Linked DNA regions of Homo sapiens: all the other regions are linked to region 2. The links are contacts of gene promoters, found by promoter capture Hi-C in human tissues and cell types (Jung and others, 2019). All regions are on one chromosome and are shown on one strand. The core of a region is centred on a gene start or on the middle of the fragment in contact, and the rest is flanking DNA. Distances in the headings are between cores, read along the strand shown.

Evidence for each region. The method cuts DNA at HindIII sites, captures the fragments that hold promoters and counts their contacts. A contact is called where the count stands out against the background at its distance.
Region 1: a fragment that was not itself captured here is called in contact with the fragment with the promoter of GART in region 2 in 1 of the 25 tissues and cell types used here (dorsolateral prefrontal cortex).
Region 3: a contact is called between a fragment that was not itself captured here and the fragment with the promoter of GART in region 2, in 1 of the 25 tissues and cell types used here (H1 embryonic stem cells).

Annotation. Positions count from the first base shown.
Region 1 is chr21:33,900,737-33,903,436 of GRCh38, forward strand. No RefSeq gene overlaps it. Among named protein-coding and RNA genes, the nearest start is that of ATP5PO, 14 kb to the right of the region's middle. RefSeq lists an enhancer at 1,045-1,640. The HindIII fragment of the contact is 3,345 bases long and covers 1-2,700 here.
Region 2 is chr21:33,540,783-33,543,788 of GRCh38, forward strand. It overlaps GART (phosphoribosylglycinamide formyltransferase, phosphoribosylglycinamide synthetase, phosphoribosylaminoimidazole synthetase), which reads right to left and starts at 1,335. Exons shown (of 22, transcript NM_000819.5): 1 at 1,283-1,335. SON (SON DNA and RNA binding protein) reads left to right here and starts at 2,256. Exons shown (of 12, transcript NM_138927.4): 1 at 2,256-2,387. The coding sequence starts at 2,311. RefSeq lists silencers at 1,211-1,500, 2,541-2,630 and enhancers at 1,651-2,100, 1,665-2,396, 2,301-2,360. The HindIII fragment of the contact is 11,246 bases long and covers 1-3,006 here.
Region 3 is chr21:33,193,493-33,196,448 of GRCh38, forward strand. It overlaps LOC105372787 (a long non-coding RNA gene), which reads right to left and starts at 2,025. Exons shown (of 3, transcript XR_937675.3): 1 at 1,819-2,025. The HindIII fragment of the contact is 3,695 bases long and covers 1-2,956 here.

The DNA of each region.
Region 1 (2,700 bases), core at 20-2,519, 360 kb after region 2:
GGTATTTGGGAGGCTGAGGCAGGAGGATCTCTTGAGTCCAGGAGGCCAAGGCTGCAGTGAGCCATGATTGTGCCACTGCACTCCAGTCTGGGTGACAGAGTGAGACCCTGTCTTAAAAATAAAAAGTTAAATGCCATTAAAAACAAATGCAATAATTAACTTTCCCAACTATACCTAGTTCTCTCCAAGTCTGATGAGGGCCCCCTCACACAGACCAGAGAGTGGATGGAATCACTAGTACAAAACATGTAATTATTACCTATTTAACCACGGTTAGTAGCCAGCATAATCAAGGCAATACTTTTTATTCTCAAATATTTAGTTTTTCTTCTTGTTACAGAAGTAATACTTGTTAATGCAGAAAATTCAGCAAGGAAAGAAAAACACAAAGGAAATAAAATCACTTAATGGAGATGTTCTTCTACACAAAAATAAAGGTTTTGATGCACTTCATTTCTGTATTTTTTGTGTGTGTGTGCATTTTAAATACTCTTGTACTATTTATTTATTTATGAGACGGAGTCTTGCTCTTGTCACCCTGGCTGCGCTCGGCCTCTTGTACTATTTAATAGCTAATATGCATCGAAAATATCCCATATACAAGGGACTGTAAAACTTTCACCTTGATTTTAAAAAAATACTGTGAAGAAAATCATTGTAGGCTGGGTGTGGTGGCTCAAGCCTATAATCCCAGCACTTTGGGAGGCTGAGGCCAGTGATCACTTGAGCCCAGGAGTTTAAAGCCAGCCTGAGCATCATGGCAAGATCCTGTCTCTACTATAAATATGAAAACTAGCTGGGTGTGGTCGCACTGCCTCTAGTTTCACTGCCTGTAGTTTCAGCTGAGGTGGGAGGATGGTTTGAGCCCAGGAGGTTGAGGTTGCAGTGAGCCATGGTCGTGCCACTGCACTCCAGCCTGAGTGATGGCGTGAGACTGTCTCAAAAAACAAAACAAATCATTGTACATAGATCTCTAGGTTCTCTCTGGTGACCTCGTAAGGCGACATATGAAGGGCCTCATCATTCCCCAAGATTGTATGTGCTTGATCAACAGGAAGCTTGCTGAGTTTGACTCTGAAGGATCTGGGCAGCATCAGCAGCATGAGGCTCCCGCAAAGACGGTTTGTCCATTGGCAGTCACATGTCTGTAGGAGCTGTGATTGTGTGTATGACGCCACCTTCTGCAGAGCAGGCCTCACTGCAGGCAGGAGGCAGGCAGTGAGTCTGGGGGAACCTGGAATGTGGTCATGGTTAGGTTGCAGACTCAGCTGCGGAGACAGAACTCAATATCCCGTGGCTTTGAAGAGAGGTCTATTTCTTCATCGTGTTTAACAGCCCAGGGGCAGCAGTAAGGCTTGGCAGGGTGGCTCTGCCCTTGGCATCGCTTGCCATCTTGTCTGCATCTAGCTAGAGGGATGGACTAAGGATTGCTCAAGAGGGCAGTCCAGGAAGGCACACCTCGCTTCCTCTCCTTTCCCATTTGCCAGAACTCAGCACCAAGGTCAGGTGCTGCCAGAGGCTCAAGAATGTGGTCTCTAGCTGAGTAGCCCTAGGCCCACCTAAAAGGTGGCTGAATGGTCTTCGGGCCAGCCAGCAGCCTCAGCACTCCTGGTTCCTGGAAAGGTTGAGGGGCCTCAGCACTCCTGGTTCCTGGAAAGGTTGAGGGGCCTCAGCACTCCTGGTTCCTGGAAAGGCTGAGGGGCCACGTGGTGTCTCCGTTGGTTGTCACATTAGGTGATCATGTATTAAAAGCTTTGCCAGGAGGAAGCTGGAGTTGAAGCCAAGCATGAGTGTCAGGAGTGTTGTGCCACATGGAGGGCACGCCAGTCCCAGCACTAGCACATAGGGAGCAGCGCTGGGCCATGTCATTGCTCTGTAGGACTTCTTTGCTGCAATGGTCCTGCCTCTGCCCAACCAGGGGTGGTTCTGGGAAGGGAACTGGTTTGTTGGCCAAAAGTTCTTGGAGGTTGACTAAGGAACAGGCACCTGAGCGGGCTGTTGCGTGGGGAACTCTGTAACTATTTTCTCTAGAAGACCAAAAGGTAAAATGTAGTGGAAGAGCTGACCTGGGAACTGGTTTTGGTTAAAAGGTGAATTGGGAGCATCTTAGGGACAAAGCGGGAAGGGGCAGGGGACCTACCTAAGGTAACTTTTGCCCGTTTGCTCCAGCAACGTGTCGGCGCATGGTGTTAGTTATACAGTGGTAAAAACATGGGCTGTAGGGCCTGACACCAGCTGTCCAGACAGGTGACTCTGAGCACATCTCTAGGGCCCCTCAATCTCTTTCCTCATTTGTAAAGTGGGGTGATGTCTCTCCCACCCGTGTGACAAGGCTGTCATGCAGCTTCAGATGTACATGAAATGGCCTTGAAAGCTACAGAGCAGCCTACAACTAGGTGTGTTCATGTTAGGATCAAGGGCAAGAGGCCTCCCTGGAGGGCTATGGATCAAACACAGATCCGATGATCTAGTAGGGACCAGGAACTCTGAACAAACCCTTAAAGACACGGGATTTTGGCAGGCAGGACCAGATAGACTTTGCTGAGTGACCATGTGTTAGGTGCTGTGTCTAACCAATTAATTCCTAAACATAATCTACTCAAACCAAATTCTCTAGGCCAAAAGGGCTTTTTGGCCTTTATACTCAGGGGATACCAAAAAAGGACATAAAAATAAAGCCTTCTACATTCCAGTTTAAAA
Region 2 (3,006 bases), core at 85-2,584:
AATATACAAAACTAACATTTTTTTGAGCACTTAACCTTGGGCAGGGTACTATTTAAAATGCTTGTCATGAAAGAATCCTATGAGGGAGATACTATTACTATCACCAATTTGCAGATAAGACAAGGAGGCCCAGATAGGTAAATAACTTGCTGGAGGTCACACAGGTAAGAGGGGGTGGAGCCTAACAGAAGCAATTTTGCTTCAGATTCTCTCAACAAGTGAAACGATGATCATTGAAAATTTGAGAAAGGAAAAAAAAAAACCCTGTTAAATTACAGTCTCGGAAGGAACAGCTACTTTAGTGTAACGGGAAAACACATTTTACTTGCCATGTGTATCTGAAATAAACAGATTTTTTATTTTATTTATTTATTTATTTGTTTAGACAGTCTCTCTCTGTCGCCCAGGCTGGAGGGCAGTGGTGTGATCTCAGCTCACTACAACCTCCGCCTCCCGGGTTCAAGCGATTCTCTTGCCTCACAGCCTCCCAAGTAGCTGGGATTACGGGCGTGCGCCGCCACGCCAGGCGAATTTTTGTATTTTTAGTAGCGACGGGGTTTCACTACGTTGGCCAGGCTGGTCTCGAACTCCTGACCTCCAATGGTCAACCCACCTTGGCCTCCCAAGTGCTGGGATTACATCACATCCGGCCAGAAATAAACAGATCTTTAAATCTAGAGCAAATGTTACATCTTTAGTTTGAATATAGCAGTAGTGTGGGAAAATTCTGTTTACTCTAGTGGATCACTGAAAATAGCCTTACTACCCAGTGGTGAGGACGCCTGGGCTCCTGAGTCTCACACAGCGCCTTGGCCTGGGTAGAGACGCTGCCCCATACTAGCAGGAAGACCTTGGGGGACTTCACTAACCTTGGGCCTCATTCCTCAGAATGGGTAACATAAGCAGAATAAGACAGGCAAATAAAGCCGTATCAGAGGATATGGAGAATAAAGTAGAAACCAACTACAAAATTAACCAAGTAATCTGCCAGAGACAACGGGTGCATAAAGAGAAAGTACACCAATTTAGGGTTATGTCCTAAAAATGTATAAAGACACAAAAAGGCCTTGACATCTTAGAAAACAGGAAAAGTAAAAGAGCAAATAGAAACCAGCTAACAGTAGCAAGTGAAAAGCACATGGCCAACCCCCACCCACCGCATTTACAAACAACAGGAAAATTTCTACAAATCAGTTTCTATGGTTTCACTCAGTTCGCGATCTTAAATCCCCAAACCAAAGCCTAAGCGCGCTCCGTGTAAAAGCGGAGGGGGTTTACGCACCGACACCGGGTGGCCACCTGGTTCCCGCTTGCCCGCTCGCCGGAAGTCGGCCCACCGGGACCGGCGCGGGACCAGCGCGGCACCGCCCCTCACTGCCCCGCCCTACGACGGCTTCCCTGCCCCATTGGTCCGCGCGGCCCTGGGTCTCCGCGGCGAGAATCTAGTCTGATTCCCTCCCGCCCTGGGCGCTGCCTGACTGCTCCCCAGCCGAGACACCCAAGCCTTAGCACGTTTATAATGTGACAGTGGTACGGGGTGCCACGCAGTGTTTCCAGGAGCGCCGGGGGGGAGCGCCAAAATGCTAAACCCATTCTTAGCCAATTGTGCGCCGCTCACGAGTCAGAGCTGAGCAGCTACCGCGGAAAAATCTCGTGACACGCCTGACTCCTGATGAGACTAAAATGCACCGGGCTTTGAATGCCGGTCGCTTAGGACATCCGGCCTATTGCTAAAAAAAAAAATGAGGCTGGTTATAGAACGCACTGGGGAAGACACAGGGCAACAGCGAGTTCCTCCTCTCACATGCCAGTGGGGGCGGGGGCTGAAAAATTCTCTCCCGGATGCATATCCCTGTCGAAACTGAACTTGGCGCCACCTGAGAGCGCCTGAAAGCCGTGTGTTAAACACCGGGTTGCCCTTCTTGCTCTTCTTCCTCTTCGCCTTTAATCTCAGGCACTTAGCAAGCCTGTTAAGGCTCCCAAACACTGCTGGGGACTGACAACTTATGCGGACACGGTCGCCTCAAGAGAGACGGCTCCTGTAATGGCGCCTGCGTCAGACACTAACATGGCGGACATAGTCGTGCGCGGCGCAAACGTCAGCACCTCTACCCCAGCCGCTCAGAAACAGCAGAGGAGAGCAGGGCCGTGCTCACTGATTGGTCCCTCGGTGGAGCGGGCCGGACCGGGCATTCCCTTTGGAGCCAATCAGGAAGGCGAGAGACCGAATTGGCCCGTGCGCCTCCTCCCGAGGCATGCTGGGAGCCTGGAGGACTAGCGAGGAGGAGTTGAGAGAACGGAGCGGACGCCATGGCGACCAACATCGAGCAGATTTTTAGGTCTTTCGTGGTCAGTAAATTCCGGGAAATTCAACAGGAGCTTTCCAGGTAAACGCCTCCCAGATTCTTCTGCTCCCAACGGACCGTTAGGCCCTCACCTAGCCTTCTTTGGCACCTTTCTTCGGAGACGCAGTCGTTCCCCGGCTCAGGCCCCGCTAGGGCCCCGCCTGGGCCTGGGATCCATTTTCCGGGCCCCCCCCAACCGCCCCCCCAGCCGCTCCCTTCCTTTTCCCTCGAGGAACTTCGCCTTTTCCGAGGTAACCCAAGACTCCCTGTTTCAGAACCGAGTTAAGATGTTCACCCTTCTCCCCTGTTTGGGTCCCCCCTGCCGTTTAGCTACTCGTAGGCCCGGTTGTCCGCCAGGGACGGGCCTAGTTCCTTCCTCAGCTCCTCCTCCGCCGCCGCGTATCCCCTCCCCCTCTCGCCTCCGCGGATTTTGCCGGCCGGTGCCTATGACCGGAAAGGGTCTCTAACGGCCGTTTCTTGGTTAATCTTAAATCCTCTTTATTATTGCGAGCTTCAGACCGCTTGGGGGTCTGGATCTATTAATAAGATTATTCGGGGCCTAGTGTCCTGTAGTATCTGTCAGCCGTTCTGATAGTTAAATGTTTCAATTAAAACGAACTCAAACTGATGCACTTGCTAGTTTGTTAAAATACTCGAGATA
Region 3 (2,956 bases), core at 390-2,889, 350 kb before region 2:
CAGGTGAATCACTTGAGGTCAGGAGTTCAAGACCAGCCTGGCCAACAAGGTGAAACCCCATCTCTGCTAAAAACACAAAATTAGCCAGGCATGGTGGTGCATGCCTGTAATCCCAGCTACTTGGGAAGCTGAGGCAGGAAAATCATTTGAACCCGGGAGGCGGAGGTTGCAGTGACCAGAAATGGCACCATTCCACTCTAGCCTGGGCGACTAGAGCAAAACTCCATCTCGAATAAATAAATAAATTCAGAGGTTAATGGCTTGACTCTTAGCATAGACACACAGATGTTACGCTATAGATTATACCAGGAAGAGGTGGGAGGAGCCACACATCCCACATCAGAAATAGCCTTTGGAAAACTGCAAACTGGATTGCGTGTGCGTTTGGCTGCAAAATAAATCATGAGTTTCTCCCAAACATTAGATGGACAAAGGAACAATTCACTTTTTTTCCCCACTGTGATCCATTCACAATGGAGTATATTCCTGGAGGATTCTAAGATGTGTTTTGTTCACTAGAGAAGACTTTTTAGGAGTGTTTAGTTTAGGAAATGCTTAGCTGGCTATAGAAGACAGGCGCACATTCTTATCTGACTACAGAATCCAGGTGTCACCTGTGGAGTTAACACAAGGCCACAGATGGCCGCCTTCAAGGTGACCCTGCCCAGAGCCTAGGGAACAAGGTGAGGGTTGACTGAGAAGGGAAATGGTGGTCCTGCTGAGAAGGACATTCCCCAAGCTCATGGTCTGGTCCACAAGCCATCGGTCACACAGAGGGTCACACAGATATGGGATGCCCAGTTAAATTTTAATTTCTGATAAACAATGAATTTGTTTAGTATAAATAAATATGTCGTAAATATTGTATGGGACATACTAAAAACATTACAATATAATTTAGTACATGTACTATGTACTAGTATATGTACTAAATTTTATATATGTGTATTTTAATATTAAAAGTTAGGCCAGGCACGGTGCTCACGCCTGTAATCCCAGCATTTTGGGAGGCCGAGGCGGCCGGATCACCTGAGGTCAGGAGTTCAAGACCAGCCTGGCCAACATGGCGAAACCCTGTCTCTACTAAAAATACAAAAATTAGCTGGGTATGGTGGCAGGTGCCTGTAATCCCAGCTACTCAGGAGGCTGAGGCAAGAGAATCTCTTGAACCAGGGAGGCGGAGGATGCAGTGAGCCGAGATCGCACCACGGCACTCCAGCCTGGGCAACAGAGTGAGATTCTGTCTCAAAACAAAAAAAAAAAGGAAAAAGAAAAAGAAAAAAAGTTAGTATGTTATACCCAACACATATTCAAGGTTGATCTGAAATTCAAATGCAACTAGGTATCTTGTATTTTTGCTAAATGTGGCAACCCTCGCACACAGCGATTCGCTAGTGGCTTTGGAGGGCAGAGGAGGTAGTTCCCTGAGCCCTCCACGTGACTTTTCCTTCTGTCCTCCCCTTCTCTGCTCAGAGGCCCCTTCCTGGGAGAAGGCTTCGCTGATCACTCTGTATACCACTGCACCCTTTTCCCACACTCCCGGCCCCCTTAGCCTGCCTTTTCCTCCATAACTTATCATTGGATGACATACTACATACTTTGAGTAAATGATTTTTTTCATCTTTATTCTCAGCCCTTTGTATTATGTCTGCCACAGAGTGGGCCTTAAAAAATATTTGTGGAACTGCATGAATGAGAGTGACTCCATGGACAAGGATAAAACACTGAAAGTAAAATAAAGGCAGAACTAAGGTAAATGAGTATTGCCATTTCGACTCACCTGATAGATCTGTGTGTTTTAGTCAGTGCAAAACTCACCTGGCGAAGGGAACACCAATGAATAAGATGACGATTAGGTAGGTCCAAGGTGGGGCCCAAGATTCTGTAGCCCTACCACGTTCCCAGGTGATGCCGATGTAGCAAAGAGAGTCCTTGAAGAGAGGCAGGGCACGGTGCTCACGCCTGTAATCCCAGCACTTTGGGAGGCTGAGGCAGGCAGATAGTTTGAAGCCAGAAGTTTGAGACCAGCCTGGGCAACATGGTGAAATCCAGTCTCTACCAAAAAATACAAAAGTTTATCAGGCATTGTAGCATACACCTGTAATCCTAGCTACTCAGGAGGCTGAGGCACGAGAATCACTTGAACCCAGGAGGCGGAGGTTGCAGTGAGCCAAGATCACACCACTGTACTCCAGCCTGGGTGACAGAGCAAGACTCCAACTCAAAAAAGAAAAAAAAAAAAAGAAAGAAAAAGAAAAAGAGAGAGAGAGAGAATCATTGAAGAAAGCTTGGATCCAGGTAAAAATAAAGAGCAGGACACAACCAGAAAAGTCTGTGGTTCTGTTATATCATTGGACAGTGTAATGAAATGTAATGTGTTTTAAAAAATAAAAATTCTATATTCCTAAATCTTGAATAGATTCCTATTTCAGAAACCATCCATTCTGATGAGTCTCCCTTAGCTCTGAAAGAAAGAGGATAAAAACCAAATACAAGAATAATAAAAACCACCTGTCCAAGATGAACTGGAGAAAGGGTGCTAATCTCCCTGCGACAACTCCTACAACTGTATTTGATCAGGATGATAAGAAAAGTTTTAACTCATGCCTCAAGCAGAGCCACAAGACCTGCCTTTTTTGATGACCTTGAATTCTACAACACAGGCTCCAAACCTCACATCTTGTCAACTCTCACCATGAGAAAAGTAGGAAACACTCTCTCACGTTCCCAAGTACTCACCATACCCCCCAAAATAAGTAAAAGCTTACTTTAAAAAATAATTTGTTTTCAGAGCAGAAATCTTCTAAAAGTTGAATTCTGATTCCGTACACACCTGCGGAGAGGTACTTGCCATGCCCACTGTCTAATATGCTTCTCTTTCTATGAACTAGGGTAGGGGTTACAAATAGCTGCCATAGAGTTACTGTCATTATCAGCCTGCAATCTGTGAGCAGCT